Linked DNA regions of Homo sapiens: region 1 is linked to region 2. Evidence: promoter capture Hi-C in 16 types of primary human blood cells and fetal thymus (Javierre and others, 2016). All regions are on one chromosome and are shown on one strand. The core of a region is centred on a gene start or on the middle of the fragment in contact, and the rest is flanking DNA. Distances in the headings are between cores, read along the strand shown. Region 1 overlaps NR2C2 (nuclear receptor subfamily 2 group C member 2). Region 2 holds the start of BRPF1 (bromodomain and PHD finger containing 1).

Region 1 (3,521 bases), core at 302-2,801, 5.2 Mb after region 2:
CCCCTGGTACCTGGAAGTCTTAGAATAGAAGGATGGGAGGTGAATTGTTAAGGACAGAAAGGGAATAGGCTAGCTCAGACACTTAACTGTTTTTTCTGTGTTACCCTTGGACTCCAGTTGGCCTGTAATGATGAAAGTCAGCCTCAGAGGCAAGTGTGATTTTTTAGGGGCAATAAAAAGTACCTCCTTCACTGTAATAAGAGGCCTGAAGTCCTTTAATAGGAGGTGAAACTTTCTATTCCATAATTATTAACAGTTACCTCAAAGATTCTAATCCCTGAAATGTTAACATGTAGATGGAGAGGAATTTCATTCCAAGTGCCCAAGTGTAAAAGAATATTTCCCCCCTGTTTGCGTTAGTGAGAGGTGTGAGAAAAGGTCTTGGGGCCTGGAAAATGGGGTGACTGCTGCTGAAAAGTGAAGAGAAATGAGAGGCTGGTAGGGCTAGACTCAAGCCTGAAGGCTTCCTGGTTTTACAGGGAGCTGCTTTATTTACCTTTGTTGTTCATATGTTGATAAAAGCTATGCAGGGGAAAAAGTTTCCTACCTGACTGCCCACCCATGTTCCTTAAAAAGAAAGATTCACGTATGGCCAGGCGTGGTGGCTCACCCCTGTAATCCCAGCACTTTGGGAGGCCAAGGCAGGCGGATCATGAGGTCAGGAGTTCAAGACCAGCCTGGCCAACATAGTGAAACCCCATCTCTACTAACAATACAAAAAATTAGCTGGGCGTGGTGGCAGGCGCCTGTAATCCCAGCTACTCGGGAGGCTGAGGCAGGAGAATCACTTGAACCCGGGAGGTGGAGGCTGCAGTGAACCAAGATCACGCCACTGCACTCCAGCCTGGGCGACAGTGCGAGACTTCATCTCAAAAAAAAAAAAAAAAACAACTGAGGCTGGATGGCTCTTGAGAAGTTACACAATACTAGCGGGCTTCATGCTGCATTTCCCCCAGTGTATTTGTTGTATAGTGAATCTGATTAGGTATTATTTCTAGAACATTTTGGATATGTCATTTGTACCACACTCGTTCTTGTCCCCTGTCCCACCACTATGGTGTCTGTAATGATGCATCTTTTTATTAGGTTGATAAGATGACTAACCCTGGAATTGAAAAATCATTTTTTAATTGATTGCTTTACCAAGACTAAAAGCAGATGTCACAAAGTATATATCAGCTTTTAACTGGAAAGGCTAATAATTAGACTGTGTTGTTGACTTATTTAATATAATACAGATTTTTAAAAATAAAATAAATTTATAATATGTCTTTTCTAAAGAAATAAACAATGTACTTTCTCGAGAATAAAAATTAAAAATAGATAAAAGTAAAACAGTTAATTTTTAAAAATAGTAAAATTTTCAAACGAAGAAAAGAAAGCAGTACATCAAAAGGCATGTGTGAAAATGTTCATAGGAGCACTAATCATAAGGACTCCAAACTAGAAACAATCTAAGTGTTCATCAGCTATAGAATGGAGAAATAAATTGGGCATAGTCGTACATTAGAATACTGTACGACAGTGAAAATGGATTCACTTCTCATGGTTATTACAAAAATAATGTTGGGCAAAAGAAGCCAGACATACCAAAAAGTGTATTATAAACAGTGCAATAATATTATAAAGTAATGCCAGTAGTATAAAAGTCAGGAGAGGGAAGAGAAGTTATTGACTATGGGAAGGGGTGTGAGAGGGACTTTTGGGGGTATTGGTAATGTCTTGTTTTCTGATCTGAGTGGCATTTACATGTGTGTTCTGTGTGTTCAGTTAGTGAAAATTCATCAAACTGTTCATTTACGATTTGTGCCTTTTTTTGTTTTTTGAGATGGAGTCTCCCTCTGCCGCCCAGGCCGGAGTGCAGTGGTACGATCTTGGTTCACTGCAATCTCCGCCTCCCAGGTTCAAAGGATTCTCGTGCCACAGCCTCCCGAGTAGCTGGGACTACAGGCGTGTGCCACCATGCCCAGCTAATTTTTTGTATTTTAGTAGAGACAGGTTTTCACCATGTTGCCCAGGCTGGTCTTGAACTCCTGAGCTCAGGCAGTCCAGCCATCCCGGCCTCCTAAAGTGCTAGGATTACAGGCAGGAGCCACCGAGCCTGGCTGGTTTGTGCCCTTTTGTATCTGCGTGTTGTAGTTAAGTAAAAAGTTTTACTTAGTAAAATTGTTCTCACTATTTTAATTAATGTGATTATTGTGTAGGTTAAGTTTTAAGGGAAGAATGTGTTCAAAGTTCTAAAAGAACTGCCATGGTACTACCTGGGTGGAGCAGCCTCAGAAATTTCTGTTAGCAATACTGAAACATAAGTCACATATTACGACTTAGTGGTTGTGTATATCAGTTATTAAATGATCTAGCTTATTGATGTAAGCAATTTTTGTTCCCTTAGATAATTCTTTCCTGTCACTTTTTTTTTTCATTCTCTCCTTGACTTCCTTTTTTCTGGGAAATTATTTTGAAGGGCACTGTGATCTAGAGGGAATGTTGCGATTTTAGAGTCAAAGAGGCCTCAGTTGGAATCCTAGCTCCATCGCTTAGTAGCTGGATGATTTGAAACGAGTTACAAGTGCTGAGTCTCAGTTTTTTCCATCTTCATTGGTGAGCTAATATTACATACTCAGAAGGTATGCTAAGGATTAAATCATGCCTAGTTTGATTTAAAGCACATTGTGGATGTCAAGAGAATTTATCCTGCTTTCCTTCCATCCATCTACCCTGGCTCTTACTGATAGATATGAAGAAAGTCCACATCACCCTTACACTTGGGCTCTTGGTAGGATAAGAAAAAATCATCCACAGTATGTAGTGACTTTTTTAGGGGAGGTGTCAACACAGAAAATTGTAGAACTGCTCTGATACTATAAATATGTAAGAACTTCATTTATGTGAAAGCCACTTCTCTTCCCTACTAGTCACTCACCCAGCCTTGCTACTTCTACCATATACATATCATTGCTGCACTTTTTTACAGTTGCTTTGAATATGGAAGAAACAACTTTCCTATGGAGGGTCACAATGGAAAGGAAATTACCTGACCCTAAAGCTAAGTAAACTTGGAGTCTAAATAAATAATTGGCTTTCCATTGACAGGAAGTATACCTAAACTTAACCTTAGAGGCATCCCAGTGAGTATCTTTTCTGTTGATGAACATTTGTATTACACTAAACCTGCCACTTGAATTTCATTTTCTACTTTCAAGTCTTGATCTATGATTGCAAGTTTCAAGCTATGTATTTCTTATTTTTTATCCTCTCTCAGGCTATCTAAATCCTTCCATTTTAATTTTCCCATGAATATGAACAGACTTCTAACAATCAGAATAATTAGACTTATACTGAATGCCTTGTACCTATCAAGAGTTCTATGCCCAGTAGTATTTTGCAAGTAGTTATTAGGTATTGGTTTATTTTTAAATATTTGTAAGATTTTGTCCTAATTTAGCCCCATTGTTTTGCCCAGTTGTACAGTTTAACAGGGCGAATTACAAATGCTTTGTGTGGGTGTTTGTTTTTTTATT
Region 2 (3,219 bases), core at 449-2,948:
CTTCATACATTCTTCAAAGACCTTAATAAGTGAAACTTTGTATGTTTTTCCTCAGGAGAGAGGCCCATAGTTGTTTTTTTTCTTTTTTCCATAAAATCCGAATCCTACACACGACCCATAGTTCTCAGCAGATTCTCAAACGAATTCCTGACCACTAAAGGAGATAACTTAGTATAACTCTGCTTTGATCCATCTATTCTGAATTATTTTAATAAGGATAATAACAGCTAATATTTTCTTTGAACATTCACTACATGTCAAACCGTGTGCTAGGTGATTTACAAGCATCATCTCATTTAATTCTCACAACAACTCTGAGAACAGGTACTATATATTATTCCCACTTTACCCATAAGGAAACTGAGGCTCTGAGAAGATGAGTCATTTAAGATAATTCATCAGTTTGACTTCAGATCCCAAGATCTTAATCAGCAAACCTCTTCCTGGCATGTCGATTTTATTGGGATGGTTTTTAGAAAACATACATTTTATTGGGTCAAATGCAAAGTTTGCATTAAGAAGATAGAAGCTTTCAGATGCTTTGGGCTTTGTCCCAGAACCCTGGAAGACCTTTCACGCTCCTCTTTGATGACAAAACTGGAGAAGTATTGTTTAAGGATGTCTCCCCCTGCCATGCAAGTTCTCTGAAACCCTCAAGAACTAACAACAGAGTTTTCGAGCTCTGTTTTACAAATAAGGAACTTAAAGAACTGAACTTGCCCACGTTCACATTGCTAGGAGGTGACCCACTCACATTAAATCAGCTGTTTTGGCACCATGTTCCAATCAGCAACCCGCAGCACATCCCTGCCAACCCACAGATTTCCCACCGCTTTACCAGACAAGCCCTTTCACACCCACCGGCCCCAAACCAGCCCCTTCTCTCAGACCCATACCTTTTCTCTAGCACCTCTCCTTTACTTTTCCCAAGTTTCTTCCCTTTCCTTCAGTCACGCCCCGTTATCCCTAATCGGTCCTGCCCTTTCCCCACAGCTCCGCCCCTGCCTTACCAAGCCCCGCCTGCTCCCTTCAGCGTCGCATCGCTTTTTCCAACTTTGTTCTTTATTTCTAGTCCAGCTCCACTTTCCAGGCTCATCCAAAGCTCCGCCCTTTCTCTCGCGAGTACTCTTCTTCTGTTTAGCCCCACTTTTTACCCCGCTATTCTAACAGGCCCCCGCTGTGCGGTAGCCCCGCCCCCTCCCACAAGCCCCGCCCCACAGACCGGTCTAGTCTCCAGCCCCGCCCCGGTCCTACCCATAACTACCGGTCCCTTAGGCTCCAGCCCGCATCCCTCTTGCTCCCGGCCCTGCCCCCAGCCCCGCCCCGTGACTCTGGCCCCGCCTCACCGCCTTCCTCCGAGACCAAGGCCAGGTCCCTCCCGCAGCCGCGGCGCCAGCAGGAGGCAGGGAGCGGATAGGGAGGAGGCAGAGGGGGAGGGGAGAAGGGCGGGCTCCTCACGCCCAGCCCCGCGCTCACCGTCCGTGGTTGCAGATTCGCCACAAACCGCCCGACGACCCCAGATCCCGAGTACGGTGACTTCAGTCTCCAGAAACTCCACTCTAAGATGGGAGAGCTAGAGAAGCCCTGTGGGGTGTCCAGGGTCCTTTCTGAATCCCGGAGCACGGTCTTTCGAGCCTCAGCGGGCGGGCGGGGATCCGTGGCGAAAGTGCAGCTCAGTAGCGCCGCGGCGCCACGTTTACCCTGCGCAGACGCCGTCGCCGCCGCTGCTGCCGCCGCCGCTGCCACAGCCTTTGCCGCCACGGTCTCCGCCGCCGCTGTCCTCGCGCTGCCTCTGGGAGCCTCCATTGTTCCAGCAGCGCCCGGTCCCGAGACCGGGCATCTTGGGGGCTCGCGAAACGGGCGGCGGCCGACGGAGTTGAGACCCCAGGGCGCCGGCGGGACCAGGAGCGGCAGGGGTCAGCTCAGGAATCCCGGGGAGCCGGGACCAAAGCGTGGGGCGGCAGGGGGCCGGGGTGGCGAGGTCTACGGTCTCCGGAGTTGGGGCTCCCCCTTCCCGGCCCGACTTTCCCCGCCGACCTCCCCAAGTGGGGTCGGAGCCCCGGCGGGCGCCCCCGGCGATGAGCCCGGACTCGAGGTGGCCGGTGAGTGCGGGCCTGGGACCAGGGCGGGAGTGGCCGGCAGGGAAGGGGTAGGCTACGTTCGTGGGACGCGCACTGAGCCGCGTGGCCCGGGAACCTCTCTGGCAACTCCAGTTGGGAGAACTGACAGTGCATTGCTTCCCAGCAGGCATCCTGGGGCAACAGTGTATCTTTCGGGGCTGCCCGGGCTAGTGGCAGGCGGGGAGCCTTGTTTCACTTGTTACACTTCCACAAAGGGGAAACGCCGCCGCATCCGGAGAGTGGGCTGCGGGCACTGCCGGGGCCCAGCCCTATCCCTCCGGCCCCCGCCCCTTACTTCCTCCAGCCCCCTGAGCTTCAGGGGCAGATGCAGCCGCCATTCTCCTTGGGCCCTCCCCACGGGCTTTCTGGTCTAAGTTCTCGTCTCCCTCGCCTGTGCCTCTGCTGCCGGGTTCCAAGGGGAGATTGCTGATTCGCTGTGCTACTTTGGGAACCATTCACCCGGGACCCAGCTTGGAAAGAGGAGAGCTTGTTTGTGCTTCGGTTGGTTTATGTTTAAAGACACAGCCGCAGGTAGGAAATAGAAGAGTTGCAGTTGGACGTGTAGCGTTACTGATGTGAAAATCAGGAGCCGTTGACAGTGGAGCTGGAGCAGCCCACTTGCCTGGTTAAGGCACAGGTGGAGAGGCCAAGAGGGGTTATTTTGTCAGGGAGCTCATGATAGCCCTGCCTGGCTGGGATGGTGCCAAGCCCCTAGCTGAATGGTTGAACTCAACTAGGCCGAGAGAAATTGGGGCAGTCTCTGACCAAGCTGGGCTTCCTGAGGCCTGGTGCCATCTGCTGTCTACACTCACCCAGGAATGTTGGGGAGCGGGGAGGGAGGGCCCCTGCGGACCAGCATGGAGCTGAGCATGCCTAGATTGTCGCGTTCGTGTTTGTACCCTTAGGGCCTGGCACTTGGTAGTCACTCAGTTGATGTGTGAGTGGGTGAACAGCTCAAATGTAATACAAGCTGCTGTCACTGACTAAATGACCTCAGTTTTCACTTTGTTTCACAGTACATCTCCTACCCAGTACCAGGGCCAGGCTCCCCATAAAGACCTCAAAAGTAAATGAATTCTTTCTGTGATCCAGTGATTTC

The links. The method cuts DNA at HindIII sites, captures the fragments that hold promoters and counts their contacts. A CHiCAGO score of 5 or more calls a contact.
Region 1: a contact is called between a fragment that was not itself captured here and the fragment with the promoter of BRPF1 in region 2, in 1 of 17 cell types (neutrophils). The highest score is 6.5, in neutrophils.

The regions. Positions count from the first base shown.
Region 1 is chr3:14,953,024-14,956,544 of GRCh38, forward strand. The region is part of intron 1 of NR2C2 (nuclear receptor subfamily 2 group C member 2); the gene reads left to right. Among named protein-coding and RNA genes, the nearest start is that of FGD5-AS1, 6.3 kb to the left of the region's middle. The HindIII fragment of the contact is 8,101 bases long and covers 1-3,521 here.
Region 2 is chr3:9,730,037-9,733,255 of GRCh38, forward strand. BRPF1 (bromodomain and PHD finger containing 1) reads left to right here and starts at 1,699. Exons shown (of 14, transcript NM_001003694.2): 1 at 1,699-2,102. RefSeq lists enhancers at 1,135-1,694, 2,255-2,814 and silencers at 1,158-1,517, 1,988-2,037, 2,048-2,177. The HindIII fragment of the contact is 5,381 bases long and covers 528-3,219 here.